Linked DNA regions of Homo sapiens: region 2 is linked to region 1. Evidence: promoter capture Hi-C in human tissues and cell types (Jung and others, 2019). All regions are on one chromosome and are shown on one strand. The core of a region is centred on a gene start or on the middle of the fragment in contact, and the rest is flanking DNA. Distances in the headings are between cores, read along the strand shown.

Region 1 (3,398 bases), core at 452-2,951:
GGTGTGGAAAACGGGGCCAGAACGATCCTGCAGAAACTTCCTGATGAAAACAACCCCGTCAGCCCTTCCCAAGCTTGAGGCCGGCTGCCACGGAACCCCAGCCAGGGCTCCAGCGCTTCCTTCGCGGCTCCAGGGACGCAGTGCCCTGCAGGCATCGCCTGCTTGCAGCCGACTTGAGGGGCTCACGGAGTCCCCTGTGCCCGGGACGCGGCTAGATCCTGGAGAAAACCCCTCCACCCAGCCCCATCTGGCAGATAGACTCCAGATTAGCAACCCCGGAGTCACGTGAGCCAAATTTACGCCGTACCCGGGTTCCAAGGTTAATCACCCCTCGCCCCCTCCGCTTCCCGGCTCCGCCGATGTGCCTCCTCTTCAGGCGGGCCTGGGGTCTGCGTCTCCCAGGCAGCTTTGGGGGTGGAAAAAAGGAGGGGAGCGGGGGAGGGGAAAGGAACTTCTTTGTTCTTTCACCGGATAAACTCAGTTTACGGAATTCTCCAACACCCACTCCCACCCCCAGTGTGCAAATATCTCTGATCCTCACTTGGAGGGCGAACTACTTCATTCATTGAGACTTTTGTGTTCCTGGCCCTAGGCTAAGTATTATCTTGTAAGATCACATTTAAGTTTCCCAACAACCCCCTGAGGTAGGTGTTATTATCCCTATTTTACAGATAAAAAGAAATGAGGTACTGAGAATAGCTTGCCTAGGGTTTTACAATTAATAGATTGGCACAGTTAGGTTTTGAGCCCCAGCCTGTTTTGACCCAAAAGCCCTAATCTTTATAGCTGTTCTTTATATAGCAGGAATAAGAGTAATAACCACTCCTTGCAGAGCAATTACTATATTCCAGGCACGGTGCACGGTATTTCTCCAAACTTCTCTCAGAGGCAGGTTTGCCACTTACCCGTTATGTGGCCTCAGGAAGTTTCTTAACCTCTTTTTGACTCAATTGCCCTGTCTGCAAAATGAGGCTAAAAATATGGTTGTCATGAAGAGTAAAAGAATTAATATATGTAAAGCCTGGCACACATTCATCCCTGAAATTGTTGTTGCTGTTGTTTTTTAACCATCATCTCCATTTCACAGGTAAGGAACCTACCCTTGGAGAGGTGAAGGAGTGAATTAGTCCAGCTTGCCCGCTGCACACCTAGCTGCAGAGAGACCCCGCTCAGAAGCCGTGCGGGATGGGGGCCCCACAGGCAGGTGAATTGCACTTGGCAGGTGGGAGATGAGCTTCTCCGGGGTCGCTGCAGAACGCGCAGCAGCCCGGGAGGCCGTGAATGGTTATCAGTTACCACGCAAGGCTGGGGGTCCGCCCGCTCCGGATTTGCTCGTAGTGCGAGGGCCCCGGCGGTGTGCTGGGGGATCCCGCCGGGCCCACTTAGAAGCACTCGGGGGGACACACCTGTTCGGGACACCTGTGGACGGGGCCCGGCTGCACCGCAGGAGCCCCCCGCCCTGGCCCCCGCGCACACACAGCCCCCCAAGGCGCGGAGGCCGCCGGCCCTCCCGCCCGTCGCGCTCCAGGGCGGAGTTTCCTCCTCTGCTCATTGTTCACGGCCCAGCGCCCGCCCAGCCCCGGCCCCGGCCCCGCCCGGCCCGGCCGCCGCCGCTGGCGGGCTCCTGGGGGAGGGGGAGGGGCGGGGGCGGGGGCGGGGGCCGGCGCTGACGGGACGGGCCAGGAGTAGCCGCAGCCGCCAGTGGGGCCGCAGCCGCGCAGACGCCGCCCAGGACGCAGCCGCCGCCGCCGCCGCTCCTCTGCCACTGGCTCTGCGCCCCAGCCCGGCTCTGCTGCAGCGGCAGGGAGGAAGAGCCGCCGCAGCGCGACTCGGGAGCCCCGGGCCACAGCCTGGCCTCCGGAGCCACCCACAGGCCTCCCCGGGCGGCGCCCACGCTCCTACCGCCCGGACGCGCGGATCCTCCGCCGGCACCGCAGCCACCTGCTCCCGGCCCAGAGGCGACGACACGATGCGCTGCGCGCTGGCGCTCTCGGCGCTGCTGCTACTGTTGTCAACGCCGCCGCTGCTGCCGTCGTCGCCGTCGCCGTCGCCGTCGCCCTCCCAGAATGGTGAGTGGCCGGCCTGGGTTCCGCCGGGACTCCCACCGTGCCCATGTGCCCCCTGCCCGGCCGAGCTGCAGGGAAGCCCGGCGCGCCGCGTGGTCCGACCCCGAGCAGCCCTATCACCGCCGGGGTCACACACGGAGCCCTGACCTTGCACCATCCACGCCCCCTCCAAACTCCGCAGCGCGGCAGGTGCAGGGCCTGGGCGTAGATTCGTCTCCACTCTCCACTCGGGAGGAGTGGGCGGTGGATTCTGCCCGGGCAAACAGGGGCGCGCCGGTGCTAAGTGGGTTTGCATGGGAAAGAAAAGGGAGACCGCACCGCGAGGCTCCACGCTTCTGCGGGACTCTCGGGATCTGATTACACCTTTCCTTCGTGTTGGAGGGAATGAGGGGCTGTAGTGTGTATTCGTTAATTCCAGGCAAAGAGGCAGGCGAGAGGCTCCCGAGGAAGTCCCTGAAGCAGGTGACAAGCCTCCAGCCACGGCCCACGCGGGCGATGTACTTACCCGTTTGCAGAGGTTTTTTCTAAGTAATGTGTGCAGGCTCAACTCCTTGAGCCCGTGCTGGGGCAGGTACAGAGTCGTAAGTGGACCTTCCACAGTCCCAGAGTCACCTGGCTGAGTGGGGGTCCTACCTCCGTGTCCCTAAAACAATCGCTTCTTAGTGCGTGGCTACGATGGTGAGACCCCCCTCGAATCCTCTTGTTCAAACGGGAACTTGTTCAAACGGGAACTTCTCTCTCGTAGAATAGGATTGGGCTGCATTTTAGACACACCTTAGAAAATGTACCTGTCTCTCATGAAACACCTGCACCTCAGAAACATCCCCTCCCTGTTTCTTTTCAAGGTGAAATGTTACTCTTTCCCTTTTGGGGGACAGGCGATGGCTGCAAACTCAACCAGAACAGGTGTTCTTAAGCCCCTAGGGAACAGCCAGAGTCAGCTCAGCCCCACGGGAGAGGTGCATTTCTCATTCTCTTTTGCCCACCTGAGCACATGTCTGCAGGAAGAGCTGAGGTGGTGTGATCACCCTAGGGCCAGGAGGACTGCGGGGACAGCACAGACAGGGTAGGGATTCTGCTGTGAGCAGGTGCCGGCAGTTTGGGACTGGACTCTAAGGGGCCAGGGGAGATGGAAGGGCAGTACAGTCTCTCCTCTGCACCGCAGGAAACCTTTGGTAGTGGGCAGGCGCTGGCACTCAGGGAGCAGGCAGGCGTGGGCATCCTCCTGTGGCCGGCGGGAGACTCCACCAGCCTGACTAGAAAGGGAAGGTCCCGGCGGGGGGAAGAATGTGTGTCCCTGGAAGAGGGGCTGCAGTGTGAGGAACAGTCAGA
Region 2 (3,364 bases), core at 862-3,361, 61 kb before region 1:
GAATGTTTGTGCAGGAGGCTCCAAAATCCCCTCCGTGCATATGTATCATCTGTCTTATCACTCCAGCCACTGGGCAGTGGATCCTGGGAAGAGCATGTGTGAGGGAGGGGCCCAAGCAGTTTCCTTTGATCCATCCTTATCTACCCTAGAGGGTGTGAGGCCCACAGCTCCCCGAGGCCAGGTCTATAATTCACACATTCTGGCCTCTGGGCTTCAGAGGGGTTATGTTGGTGAAAGTGCAGTCCTAGTCTGTACCAGCCGTACCCTCCCACCAGGCCCTGGGGATTAGGACCAGGGGGGCTCCCGCATTCCTCCGGACCACCTCACCTCCAGTCTCCTGTGTGTAGCAGCCTCTCAAACTTCTCTGGGGCAGGCCCAGAGCCTCTACTGGCACCTAAGGAAGGCTGTGTGGCATTTCAGCTGGAGAAAAGAGGAAGTGAGATCGTTTCTCCCCAGGAACCTTAGGCCTTCCTCTCAGACAAGCCCTTTCGCCTGGCATCTGCCTCCCACTGCCCAGTGAGTCAAGCCCAGTGCCTGGAGCTAGGAAACACCTCCTCAGTGCCTGACAGACCTGCCTCAGCAGTGCCAGGGGAGGAAGTGCCAGCAAGAGTAGCACAGAGTCACCCACCTGCCCCCCTGTCCTGTCCCCAACAAGCCTCCATGTTTACTCTCCCAGGGGCAGCCATTCCACCCCTTGCCCTTGGAGGGCTGAGCCGTGCTTTTAATCCTTTTATCCCAGAGCTAAGCCTGGGCCTCTGCTGAGTCTTCCAGGAAGGGACACTTCTGGAAGGCTCCTCTCTCCTCAGGACTAACCTCTTTCTTTTGTCCTTGCCAGAAGGAGAGCCTGTATGGTACCAGAAAGATGGGGGAATCAGAACTCCTGGGTCTTGCCCATTTCACTCTCCACATCAGCTGCCCATGCGGGAACCTGAGTTGAGTACCCACTGAGGGAGGTGAAGGAGGATGGTCTGGGCTCCCTCCATGGCTGGAGGGTGAGACATGGGCCAGCTCCACAGCCAAAGAGCTGTCTCCCTTGAAGACCTTCCAGTTAACATTTCCTCTCCAGAGAAGATAAACAACTGGGCTGGTGATATCAGGGGCCACCCAGTGCTTAAAGCCAGGGAGGATTGCTCCTCTGAATTTGAGTTTGTATTTTGGTGCTATCTTACCAGTAACTCTCACCTTGGCAACCTTAAGAGGTGGAGAGGGCAGGTTTTACTGTCTCCGTTTCAGAGACATGACAAGATGGAAACTGAGAATGTGATGTGGCTTACGCAGACCTCCCAGACACTACATGATAGCCAGATTAAACCTGAAGCTCCTTCCTCTTCTCTGAACTGTACACAAGGGAAGGAAAGGTGCCCAGCTCGGTTCTCTTCTCTGGCACCCTGGGATTATGGAGGCAGCGGGGTGGGGGGGCGGGGGAGAGTGGCTCAAGGTAAGCCTAGAGGTACATCCCAAAATTCCACATCTCCTTATAACAATCAGTCATTAGTCACTCATCAAATAAGCAGTAAGTACCTACCTCATCCCAAGTACTGCTCCAGGACACTTCCAGTGGGAAGGGAGGGACATTAAACAACCAGTGACAAGAAAGCCAGAGCTATGGGAATCTAGTCTAGGAGCCAGGGACAGATTCCTGGAAGAAGCCCATTTCAGATAAGACCGGAAGAGTGAATCAGAGTCACCCAAGCCATGAGGAAGAGCACGGACACCCTGTCGTCCGCGTGGAGATCTTTAGATCTTTAGCAGATAGTTGAATGTGAGAGGAGTCTAGACTACAGATAGAGACTTAAAAATTAGTAGCCTAGGGATAGATGGCTTTAGCCTTTCCATGCCCAATATCCAAAAATTTCCCCAAGTAAACAGACCCTAAGCGAGAGAAGCATGCAAACGATTTCTTTTTTTTTTTTTTTTTTTTTTTTTTTTTTTTAAGACAGAGTTTTGCTCTTGTTGCCCAGGCTGGAGTGCAATTGTGTGATCTCGTTTCACTGCAACCTCTGCCTCCTGGGTTCCAGCGATCCTCCTGCCTCAGCCTCCCGAGTAGCTGGGATTGCAGGCATGCTCCACCACGCCTGGCTAATTTTGTATTTTTAGTAGAGATGGGGTTTCTCCATGTTGGTCAGGCTGGTCTCAAACTCCCGATCTCAGGTGATCCATCTGCCTCAGCCTCCCAAAGTGCTGGGACTACAAGCATGAGCCACTGCGCCCGGCTTTTCTAAACAAGCTTCCTATTATATTTCCAGTTCCAATCAGCTAGATCAACAAGCCTTTTCCTTTTTTTTTTTTTTTTTTTTTTGAGACGAAGTCTTGCTCTGTAGCCAGGCTGGAGTGCAATGGCGCGATCTCGGCTCGCTGCAACCTTTGCCTCCCAGATTCAAGCGATTTCCCTGCCTCAGCCTCCTGAGTAGCTGGGACTACAGGCACACACCACCACACCCGACTAATTTTTTGTATTTTAATAGAGATAGAGTTTCACCATGTTGGCCAGGATGGTCTTGATCTCCTGACCTCATGATCCGCCCACCTTGACCTCCCAAAGTGCTGGGATTACAGGCGTGAGCCACTGTGCCTGGCCACCAACAAGCTTTTTCATATGGGAACTGTAGATCCAGTGGCCACTGTCTCTAAGGCCAACCATTCTGCCTAGAGTCCACCATCCCCTCCCTTCTGTCCCAGGCCCACCCGAACTGGGTTTACCTCTGTCTTCCTCTATATTGGCTCTCTGCCTCCACTGCAGTGCAAGATACTCCCATCATGAACATCCTCTTCTCACTCCTGTGGCTCCCTCAAGCCAAGCTCCTGGTTCTCTCCTCCTTTTCTATGCCAGGTGTGCGCCTGTTGCTCTCAGGTGCATTCTTAACCCTCTCCTGCTCTCCTCTGTTCTGAACTGCTGTGGGGCTGACTCCTGCAAGCTCTGTTCCCCAAGTTCTGCGGCAAACAAGCTTCCAAACAGCAGACAGGGTCATCCCATGAAATGGGGGAACAGGAGACAGCAAGCAAGAAGGGCATTTCTCCCCCTTCTCTCTCTGTGGGTGGGGTCTCCAGCAGGACCTGCATCTCCTTCACATTTCCGCCTCCCACCCGGCAGCCCCTGCCATGCTTCTGCTTCCCACCAGGTATCCCTGACTCTGGGCTCTCGTCCTGCCACATGTCCCTTCTTTATGATGCCAGCTCCTGAGGTCAGTTCCTGCTCATGATCATCAGAATACCACCTCCTCCTCCTCCGCTCTTCCAGTCGTGAGGGCAGTGGCAGCTTCCCCATGCAGCTACCCTCTGGCTTCCGCTTCCTCACTGCCCTCTGACCTTTCTGCAATTCCAAGAACCTTGGATCCAGCTATCTGCATTATGTTCCCTGCATTGC

The links. The method cuts DNA at HindIII sites, captures the fragments that hold promoters and counts their contacts. A contact is called where the count stands out against the background at its distance.
Region 2: a fragment that was not itself captured here is called in contact with the fragment with the promoter of PODXL in region 1 in 8 of the 25 tissues and cell types used here (H1 embryonic stem cells, IMR-90 fibroblasts, dorsolateral prefrontal cortex and 5 more).

The regions. Positions count from the first base shown.
Region 1 is chr7:131,554,931-131,558,328 of GRCh38, reverse strand. It overlaps PODXL (podocalyxin like), which reads left to right and starts at 1,701. Exons shown (of 9, transcript NM_001018111.3): 1 at 1,701-2,069. The coding sequence starts at 1,970. RefSeq lists an enhancer at 766-1,313 and silencers at 1,281-1,400, 1,431-1,490, 1,571-2,080. The HindIII fragment of the contact is 6,040 bases long and covers 1-3,398 here.
Region 2 is chr7:131,616,873-131,620,236 of GRCh38, reverse strand. No RefSeq gene overlaps it. Among named protein-coding and RNA genes, the nearest start is that of PODXL, 62 kb to the right of the region's middle. The HindIII fragment of the contact is 5,865 bases long and covers 1-3,364 here.